3 separate regions of the Homo sapiens genome follow, and regions 2 and 3 are each linked to region 1. The links are contacts of gene promoters, found by promoter capture Hi-C in human tissues and cell types (Jung and others, 2019). All regions are on one chromosome and are shown on one strand. Each heading gives the region's core, a stretch centred on a gene start or on the middle of the fragment in contact. The rest is flanking DNA. Distances are from core to core; before and after follow the strand shown. Region 1 holds the start of OTUD7A (OTU deubiquitinase 7A). Region 2 has its middle 9.8 kb from the start of LINC02352. Region 3 holds the start of KLF13 (KLF transcription factor 13).

Evidence for each region. The method cuts DNA at HindIII sites, captures the fragments that hold promoters and counts their contacts. A contact is called where the count stands out against the background at its distance.
Region 2: a contact is called between a fragment that was not itself captured here and the fragment with the promoter of OTUD7A in region 1, in 1 of the 25 tissues and cell types used here (dorsolateral prefrontal cortex).
Region 3: a contact is called between the fragment with the promoter of KLF13 here and the fragment with the promoter of OTUD7A in region 1, in 1 of the 25 tissues and cell types used here (dorsolateral prefrontal cortex).

Annotation. Positions count from the first base shown.
Region 1 is chr15:31,868,861-31,872,335 of GRCh38, forward strand. OTUD7A (OTU deubiquitinase 7A) reads right to left here and starts at 1,813. Exons shown (of 13, transcript NM_001382637.1): 1 at 1,647-1,813. RefSeq lists a silencer at 1,776-1,845. The HindIII fragment of the contact is 13,679 bases long and covers 1-3,475 here.
Region 2 is chr15:31,204,482-31,207,956 of GRCh38, forward strand. No RefSeq gene overlaps it. Among named protein-coding and RNA genes, the nearest start is that of LINC02352, 9.8 kb to the right of the region's middle. The HindIII fragment of the contact is 4,398 bases long and covers 1-3,475 here.
Region 3 is chr15:31,325,082-31,328,556 of GRCh38, forward strand. It overlaps KLF13 (KLF transcription factor 13), which reads left to right and starts at 1,754. Exons shown (of 2, transcript NM_015995.4): 1 at 1,754-2,708. The coding sequence starts at 2,132. RefSeq lists a promoter at 879-1,935 and an enhancer at 963-1,476. The HindIII fragment of the contact is 14,180 bases long and covers 1-3,475 here.

The sequences.
Region 1 (3,475 bases), core at 563-3,062:
CACACCAATACAGGGTTCAAGAGATTGAAGTTCCTAACCAGGTCCCAACTTTTGAGTGGCATATGGTATTAAATTCCTTACAGATCCAATAAAATCACACTAACAATTTAAGGCATGCTTATTTTAACCAATTAGGAGGTGTCATTAATTATTAAATACAAAAATGTCAATACTTTTGTCCCTTATTGGATATCCTTTCGATATGATAGGCTTGAGTAGATACTCAGATTGCCTTGGGAACTTGCTTAGTTTTGTTCCCATAAGAATTGGTACTAATGGCACACTCACAATAAAATAATGGAGTGTTGATCCCATTTAGTGGGGAATGTTTATCCAGAACTGAGTGTGCCGTGCAGATCTACCTCTGTTCTCGTGAACCCTCTTTGGGTCTTGAAGAGGCCTTTGAAGCTGGTGGGACACACGGCTGCTGGGAGGACCCTAGTGAACCTGCCTCCCCGCCTTCGCCCAGGGCAGGCTTCTCCGGGCACACCCTGGAGGAGGAGGAGGAGGATGGTGAAGGACACCTGCAGATTTTCCTGAAGCAATTAAGACCTGTAAAGATTTAGGCCCCGCTGTCAACCTTTTCCTGGACACATTATCTGCCTCATCATATTTTTAAAAATTGTTCCTCTTACAGCCCACTTCCATTTACAAAGGTATCACCTGGCGGTAACCATGTGCATGTCATACATGACTTTCCCCTGGATCCTTGTGCTGTGGATGAAGCGTTTCCCTGATCGGGGTCTCACAAGTTTCCCTTCAGCTACTCTTAAATCTATACATTCTCAAGCCAATAGACAGAAATAAAAGTCATTTGCACTTGTGTGAGGTAGCTGAGTTTACAGAGCAGAGGCAAATCCATTTTATTACAGAGATTCTCAAAGGGCTGCAATAGCTTCACCGGGAGGGAGGAGGGTACACTTGAGCGGTTGTGTCCAATGAAGGAAAGTTTTAGTTAATGATGACATCACTGACATCTCCCAAATTTAAAGGAGCACTTAAAGCACCGCAGATGCAATTTTTTCCCCTCCAGTGAGGAGATACTAGGGAAGGCCTCTGGGTTCACAGCCAAATTGCCTTAATGGTTTGCCTGCTGTCCAGCGAGACCCAGCAGAGCGAGCGGGACGGCGGTGCGCCGGGCCGCGGGGACCCACGCAGTCACAGCTCCGGTGCCCGGCGAGCGGCCTCGCGCGCGGCTCGGGGCCGGGCCCTGCCCGGCCGTCTGCAAGAGCCGCGGGACCCCCGACGCGCGCGCACGGACCGAGGGGTCGGTCGCCCCACGCCTGGCATCACGTTCCAGTGCGGACAGCCAAAGGGCTGAGCGGAGGCAGCAGCCCCGACCCAGCGGTAGCGCCGCGCCCTGCCCGAGAGAGGCGCGCCACGCCGGGCCGGAGCCGGTGGCCCGGGAGCCCGCGGGGTCCGGAGCGGAGCCCGCAATGCAGACGCGCCGGCGAGCCCAGCCGGGGCCCGCGCCCCCCGCGTCCCCGCGCCCCGGCCCCGCGGTCGCCCGGCCTCAACGCCCACCTGCCTCGCCACGGAGCTCGGGAAGGAGACGGCGCCGGCCCCGCGCCCGGAGAGCGCACCTGCCTGGTCCGCGGGCCCGGCCCCGCCGCCCGCCGGCAGCACCGCGGCCAGCGCCGTCTTACCTGCCGCGCCGCGCCGCTCCGCTCCGCCAGCCCGCAGCGCCGCAGTCGCCGCTACCCGACTTCCATTTTCTCTCGCTTTAAAGGAAAACCAGATCAGCTGTTTTGCTCCCGCTCGGGCTCCGCGGCCCCCTCCCCAGCTGCCGCTCGCGGTCCCGGTGGCCTCTCCTCCCCCGCCTCCTCCCGCGCTCCGCTCCGCCCCTCGCGCCCCTCCGCTCCGCCCGCGGCCGCGCACAACGCCCGCCTCCCGGCTCCGCCTGCTGCCTCCGGGCGCGCGCCCTCCTCTGACGTCACCGGTCGCGTTCGCGCCCCGCCCCCGCCCCGCGCGGACGTGCGCGCGCCGCGCCTGTGCCCCGCCCCCGCCCCTCCGGGGCCGGGCACGGAGAGCGCGTGCTCGCGGCCGCGAGCCGAGGAGGGGACGTACAGCGCCCGCGCGCCCGCGAGCCCGCTCCGGCTCTCCCATGCTTGCCCCTCGGGGTGCTCCTTCTGCGCTCTCCGCCTGGACTGCAGGAAAAGGCTGCTTAAACAGCCTGCCTTTTCCTGCTGCCTGACTCGCGCCATCTGCGGCCACCTGTCTCGTTTCTTCCCCCTGGCTGGCGCACCCTTCCTTCCTAAACATCCCAAACTTTCTCCCACCCAGGCTGTCCAGGCTGCAGTTTCTACGCCCTGCGCTGGGGCCTGTGCATCACGCCTAATCCAAAGCTGGTCCTTTTACCTCCCAAAAAGGTTCTCTGACCTTTTCCCATTTTTTGCCTTCCTCTAAAGACTTTTTCACGCCACCCCTTCAGATGGTTCCCCTCCCTGATGGCAAGACCTGCTCGCTGCTCTGGGCCCTTCTCACGTCACCCTGTAGATGTAGTCACGCTTCCTTATCCCAAACAGGACGTTATATTGCAGATGACCCATACCATCCTGGTGTACTTCTAAACAATCATTATTTTACTTTTAGTTTAGGACTTTTTGCTTGACTTTAAACATTGTATATGTTTAATAGTGTTTAATAATTTATTTGACTTTTAAAATTGATATTCAGTAAAATTGGTTATTTGATATATAATCCTGTGATCTTGAACCCTTGTTTGGATTCATGTAACCACTAGCGCAATAAAGAGCTCCCTAGTTCTGCCCTTTTATAACAGCGCCCCCGCCAACCCTAACTTTTGGTAACCACTGATAGGTTCTCCATTGCTACGGTTTTGTCTTTGTGAGTGTGTCGTATACATGGAATTACGCAATATGTAACATTTTGAAACTGACTTTATTCCCTCATCATTATACCTTGGAGATTCATCCATGTTATTGTGTATAGTAATAGTCCTTTTTATTGTTGAGGGGAGTCTCATTATTTGTACCACATTTTGTTTAGTCACCCACTGGAGAATATTTGCGTGGTTTCCAGTTTTTGGCGACTGTGAATAAACATTCTATAAACATTTGCATGCAGCGTTTTGTACGGACAAATTTTTTAAATTAGTTGACTAAATATCTAGGAGTGCAATTGCTAGATCTTATGGTAAATTTGTTTAACTTTATAAGAACCAAACAGTTTTCTAGAGTGGCTATAGCATTTTTATAACTGTCAGCAAATATGAATCCCTTTCCTTCATCCTCACCAGCACTTGATATTGGCTATCTTTATCTATCTATCTGTCCATCCATCCATCCATCCGTCTATCATCTATAATTTTAGACATTCTAGTAGGCATATAGTGCTATATCGTTGTTAATTTTCAATTTTCTACTGAAAAATTATGTGGAGCAACTTTTCATATGCACCTGTATATCTTCTTTGGTGAGATGTTTGTTCACATCTTTTGCCCATTAAAAAAAAA
Region 2 (3,475 bases), core at 703-3,202, 660 kb before region 1:
CTCCCTCCCACTGCTGCTAACCTGGGATCCTCCAACCCTTGATGACGATGCCACTCAGGGGTCTGCTGGGCCACTCTCCCTGTGATATTCACAAGTGGGGACTTGAACCCCTGACTGGTGATTTGTGGGGGGCTTGCCGCTGTAGGATCCTCTTTCCACCCCTCTGAGTGGACGAGAAGGAGCAGGACAGGGAGCTGGCATTGTGTCCCTGGTGGCTCCTTCCAGGTGGGCAGCGGGGAAGGGCTGCCCAGCCAGTCAGGGCAAGTGGGAGCTCAGGGCTGGGTTGATGGCCAAGGCTGTGAGGCTCAGAGCAGATGCCTTGAGCCTTCCTGCATGAGCCCTTGGGCCAGATGGAGTAGGTAAGCAAGGATCTCAGTCACACAAGGTAGTGTCCACCATGACTTCTGCCTCCTGTCAGCCACCCTCCCTCCAAGCCAGGTCTGCTGCTGGTAATCAAAAGAAGTAGGGTTTGTCAGAATTTCTGTTTGTGGGGCATAAACTTGTAGCACTACCACAGCAAAAGCATTTGTGTGTGCAGTTGTGTTCTTCATACATTTCATCTTATCACATTATGTTTTAGTGTCTCAGATACATCTGGTCCTGATGTCTGATGGCTCCAGTTAAAAGCATGCAAAACTGCCACCAAAGCAGTGAAATGCAGATAACAGTGACAAACGGATTAAGAGGCATTATCACTTCAAAGTGTGTTTAATTAAGATGAATCTCTGTACAAGAAAACCTGAAAATGCCTGGAAACCTTACAGCTCATATAGAGAAAAAAACATATTAGAAAAGGTCCCAGCCAGGTGCAGTGGCTCACACCTGTAATCCCAGCACTTAGGGAGGCCGAGGAGGGCGGATCACAAGGTCAGGAGATTGAGACCATCCGGGCTAACACGGTGAAACCCCGTCTCTACTAAAAATACAAAAAATTAGCTGGGCGTGGTGGCAGGCACCTGTAGTCCCAGCTACTTGGGAGGCTGAGGCAGGAGAATGGCGTAAACCCAGAAGGTGGAGCTTGCAGTGAGCTGAGATAGTGCCACTGCACTCCAGCCTGGGTGACAGAGTGAGACTCTGTCTCAAAAAAGAAAAGAAAAGGTCCCAAATTTGAGTCTTAAAAATGTACATGATATTACTAATAATGGATTGTGAAGCTGAAAGTTTTCTAAACTTTTAATTAAATTTATTATTTTGATGCTAGACTATCAATTGAACTACGTCCTGGAGGCTGTCACTTGTTTTTGTAAATACAGTTTTGTTGGAACACAGCCATGCTCATTCATTTACAAATTGTCTATGGCCACTTTCCTGCTACAATGGCGGATATGGGTACTTAATACATAGGCTTGGTCCCCAAAGCCTGAAATATTTGCTTTGGTCCTTTACAGAAGAAGCTTCTGGCCCCCTGTGCCAGATAAAAGATTAAATTACCCTTTTATGTGTTGTATAGGAAATATGACCAAAAAAACCTGCCATATAAAGGATGACTAAAGAATTTGTAGCCAAAAATGTAGGAAAACACGTATTATATAATTATGTCAGGCAGTTAGCTATAAAAAGATGTTATGTTATATTTCTGTACTTTATGATGTTTGTGATGGTTTTCAGCTCTTTAAAATTTGTAAGGTTTATTATTTTCTCATTCTAAATATTTGCTTTTATACCTAATTTTTTATTTTCCAAATTTTTAATTCTTAAAGGAGTCTTATGACTGTATAATCTCCAGACCTCACAAAACTTGGATCCACACCTAGCCATTAAGAACTAATATACTACATTTGCATTTTAGAGAATAATTCCTATACTGCATGCAAGAAATTGGTGTATCTCAATTTAACTTGCTTGCAAAGACTTCAGAGTCTTATTGCACAAACAACAGTATCTAAGAGAATAAAAGTCAGCGAAGCCTTAAAGGAGCTGATCAAGTGACAGTATGATGACAATAAAATCACAACAGGGTGTGGCTGCTCACACCAAAGCAAGGGGGTCCGTGGGACTGTCAAAACTGCCCTAGTTTCTATTATAAAAAGCCCCCTCCCTTTGCCAATTACAAAATGAGCAGCCTGCCCTGCCCTCTCTCATTCCCGTTGCAATGGGCATGGCAATGCCAAGGGGGCATCCTCGCTTCACATTTGTGCAGGGCAAGAACCAAATTCCTTGATTCTTGGAGCTCCAGAACTCCAAACAGTGAGGGGCCTATAAGGTACCCCCAGCATGGTCCCTTCCCGTGGACCTCAAAGGAAGAGCGTGATCCTCTCTGACAGGATGCCACTGACTGCAAGCCACAGAATGTCTGGTCATCAGTGGTATCTGTGATAATGACTCTGAGGGACGCCCCTTTGCCAAGGCTCAGGAATGCTCCCACGGGCTGCCGGGCCTATTCAGCATGTCTGGGGTTTGGGGTTTCTCCCTCATAAATCACGGAGGGCTGCTCCCACCCCCAGCACTTCACACCGCACAGGGCCCCAGCAGGAGGGAAAGTGTGCTTTTTCCTCACCACCTGGAAAAGCTCTCACTGTAACACTCCCCTTCCTGCTCACTGCATCACATGCCCACCCTGAGCCAGTCACAGGAAAGCCCAACACCAAGCCAATCCCGATTCCCCGGGCGTCCTGGGCACACATCATTAAAGAAAAAGGCAATGGTGTGGAAACAGGTAACCCTCAGTGTCATGTTTCGTAGGCTCCAGGTACAAACCATTCCCATGGAAAGACTAAGCCTCTACAAAGGATTTGGCCCAGTCAGCGTAACCCTGGGGAATCTTGAAAATATCTCAAGCTGGTCCATAGGACACGGAGGTCACTGCCCCAGCTCTGGGTGGGTTTCTGAGTGTGGACCTGGATGGCTCCCAAGGCTCTTTGGGGATGCTCAGATAGTATCTCCAGCAGCACCTGCAAGTCAGCAGAAGATGAGGGAGCTTCCGGAAGCATATAGACCTAGATGCTAAGATCAAACCCCAGACCACAGAGAACCTACCACAGCAGAGAGTGGCACTGTTTAGATCTTCTGACTTCCACTGTCACCTGCCTTAGAGACAGGTGAATGCCAGGAGAGGTTAGCTGCTGATGCCTGAGAAATCTATCAAAGGAAAAGGTGGGCTTGTCCCAGGAAGCCTAGGGCATGATTCTCTAAACAGCAGGCAGAATTACAGAATCTTGGTGCCAAAGGAACCTTCAGAATTAACTAATCCAGGGTTTGTCAAGTTTTTTTGATGACGAACAAATAGATTGCACTATGCTATGGTTCGAATGTCTCCTCCAAAACTCATGTTGAAATTTCATTGCCATTGTAACAGTATTAAGAAGTGGGACCATTGAGGGGTGATTAGGTCATGAGGACTTTGCTCTTATAAATGGATTAAATGCCACAGAAAGGAGGAGTTCAGTCCTTGCTCTCATTCTGGCTCTTTCTTTGCCCTTCCTCTAGGGGGTGATGCAGCAAGAAGGCCCTCACCAGATGTCAGTCCTTTGATCTT
Region 3 (3,475 bases), core at 504-3,003, 540 kb before region 1:
ATAGAGGAACATTCCGAATCATTACTTGGTCAGGACACACGTCTCTTATTAAATGTCATCAACACAATCTGCCTGGAAGAAACACGATTACTTTCTACCAAGCACAGACCCTCCTAAAGGGACCAGACCCAGTCCAGCACCTTTAGTCTCCCCAGAGGGTAGCAACTCAATCAGCGAGACCGCATTTCAGGGTTTTAGTTACAGATACTGAGGGTGCTCAAACATCCATGCAGTTTGCTGTTCACCGTAACACGCAACCCAGAATGGCCGTTTCGGTCCCTCGTCGGTTACCTGAAAACCAGTCTTACTGAGCTCCAACCCCAAATTAATTTGGTGAGAACTCGAACTCGGCTATTAACCTTAATTCTGAGAGAAGAATGACACCCCCCTCCCACTGCGAGGGTCCACTGAGGGTGAGTGCCCGGGCTCCTTCATTCTCCAGGCTCCTCTCAGAACACAGCAAGGGTGGCTGACTCCTTCGAACGTCCATTAAGCACAATGCAACGGGGCGAGGCAGTAGGGGGTTTGCTGAGCCCGGTTCCGCGGCGGTGGGAAGTTATTCACCGGCGTCTCCGAGGACGGCCCAGGCCTGGAGAATGGCTGGGGCCGCGGGCTGGGGTAGGGGTTACCGTGAGAGTCAAGGGCAAGGTGGCCCAGCCCGGGCTGGGAGGCGCGGGCTGGGCGCAGCCGAGCATTTCCTCCGGGAGGCCCAGACAGCGGGCGGGTGGGGCGCGGTGGGCGGGGTCCTCGCAGCTGGTGGCGTTTGAAGCCCCCCCGACCGCGGTGGGAGAGGGGCAGCCTAGAAGAGTTGGCAGCGGGCCTGCGGCGGGATGGGGAGGAAGGGGCCCCGCGTTCCCTCAGCAGCGGCGCCGGCCGCCCTGGCACGTAGTTCGCTTCTGGAGGCACAGGCCGCGGTGGGCGCGCCACCCGGGCTGCCAGGCTCACCGCCAGCCGAGGCCAGTCCTGCTCGGGCTGACCCGAGCTGAAGGGCAGCGCGGCCGCACCCCGGACCCCAGGAACGAGCCCGAGTCTGTCCCTCCCGCGGGAGCTGCCCCGCCCGGACTCCCGGAGCTCTGCAAGGCAGGGGCGTGGGGAGGGCGAGCGGCCTGAGGCTCTAGGCGCGGCCACCCGGCAAGCCGGCGGCGGAGGGCGCGGCGCGAGTGCGTTCCGCCCCTAGGCAGCCCCGCGCCCGGCCGGGCAGACACGCCTCCCCGCCGGCGCCCATCGCGGGAGGAACAAATGGCGCCCTCCAGAAACCGCTCCCCTCCATGCCGGGGGCCAAGGCTGTCACCACATAAAAGCTCCGGCAGAGAAGTGCTCGCTGTGTCCCCGCCGCGGGGGGTACAAGCAGCCGCTCCGCGCCGCGACTACCCGGCCCGCCGCCCCCGGACGTCATGCGTCAGCGCGCCCCGCTCCAGTTTCCGCCCCTCCTCCCACCGGCCCAGGGGACACGCCCACTGGCGCGCGCAGGGCCCGGGACCGGGCACGCCCCTCTAACGGCTCGGATTGGCCTGGCCGTGCACTCACGGACCAATGGCGTCTGTCCCGGCCCTCGGTCACGCCCCCTTGCCCAGGCGCGGGCACGCGACCGCTCCGTTCCGCCGGTGCGCGCTCTGGGGTCCCCGCCCCCTCCGCGCGCGCAGCTCCCCGCAGCCGCCGCCGCCTGTAACCTGCGCCGCCAGGATGTGGCTGGGGGCTGACGTCGGGTCCAGATGTGGCCCCGGCCCCGCCCACCCCCGGGGCCGGGCCGCCCACACGGAGCCGCGGCGCGCACGGCAGCTGTCCCGCCTGCCACAATGCGCGGCGAAGCTGCGGCCGCGACTTGGCGAGGTGGTCCCTAACGTTGCCGCTCGGCATCCTTAGAACCGGCCGCCCCTGACGCCGCGCGGGGACCCCAGTCGCCCGCGCGCCCCATGCGCTCACTCTTCGGTGCCCGGCCGGGCCGGCGCCTCGCAGACGCGGAGCCGCGCGGGTGACGGCACAGGCGGCTGCGCGCCCAGCCCAGCCCAGCCCAGCCCGAGGAGAGGGCGCGCCGCGCCCCCGCCCCCCGCCCGCTCTCCCGAGGCCGTGGGTGCGGATGCGCGGCTGACGACTCGCAGCAAGAGCACCGCCGCCGGCCCCAGCCCGCAGCATGGCAGCCGCCGCCTATGTGGACCACTTCGCCGCCGAGTGCCTCGTGTCCATGTCGAGCCGCGCGGTCGTGCACGGGCCGCGGGAGGGGCCGGAGTCCCGGCCCGAGGGCGCGGCCGTGGCCGCCACCCCCACGCTGCCCCGCGTCGAGGAGCGCCGCGACGGTAAGGACAGCGCCTCGCTCTTCGTGGTGGCGCGGATCCTAGCGGACCTCAACCAGCAAGCGCCGGCGCCCGCCCCGGCGGAGCGCAGGGAGGGCGCCGCGGCCCGGAAGGCGAGGACCCCCTGCCGCCTGCCGCCGCCCGCCCCCGAGCCCACCTCCCCCGGCGCCGAAGGCGCGGCGGCCGCGCCCCCCAGCCCGGCGTGGAGCGAGCCGGAGCCCGAGGCGGGGCTGGAGCCCGAGCGGGAGCCGGGGCCCGCGGGGAGCGGCGAGCCCGGCCTCAGACAAAGGGTCCGGCGGGGCCGAAGTCGCGCCGACCTCGAGTCCCCGCAGAGGAAGCACAAGTGCCACTACGCGGGCTGCGAGAAAGTTTACGGGAAATCTTCGCACCTCAAGGCGCACCTGAGAACTCACACAGGTCAGTGGGGCGGCGCGGGCGCCCGGATCGCGCGGACGGGGTCGGCGCGAGCTGCCCGACCACGCCCCCGGAGTCCCCGATGGGGCGCGAGGTGGGGGCCGGGCGGGCCGGAACGCCCGGGGCCTCGCCCCTTCCCCTGCCGCTCCGACCCGCGGCTGGCCCCGCGCGTCGCGCGAGGCGGGTCTTGGCTCTCGGAGCCGGCGCCCGCCAGGCGACCGCGCCCCCGCCGGGCACGCCCCCTCCCCGGGCGCGCTCGGGTGGGGCCGCGGGGGCGGATATAGTCATCTGGGCTGGGGGCGGGGACCCCTCCCGGCCGGGAGGCGGCGCGGGCAGGTGCGGGCGGCCTGGGTGTGGACCGCAGGCGGCACTCGTGACGGTGGGGCGCCCGGAGCGGGGGCAGGGGACGCTCTCCGGGGTCCCTCCTCGTTTCCTCCCCCGCTGCCCGGGCGCGCGCTCAGGAGGGGAGGGGCCGGCCCCGGCGCGCGGCGGGCGAAGTTCACGCAGGGACAAGGTTTCCTTCGCCACTCGGCACATTCTTCGCTCTCTTCTTCCTGTAATTTTTCCAGCGCTCTAAGGTTTAATTTGTCGTAACCAAAGTCAGCGGCGGCGCTTGGCGATGCGGGGGGCGGTCCCGGGTCCCGCTCCCCGCCTGCGGCTCTTTGTGGGAGCCCCCGCCCATCCGGCCCGGCGGGGGCGCGCCCGGCCCTAGGCTCCTCGGCCTCGAGGCTCTCTCCGGAAAGGAATGCCCTGGCCGCTGCCCATCCTCC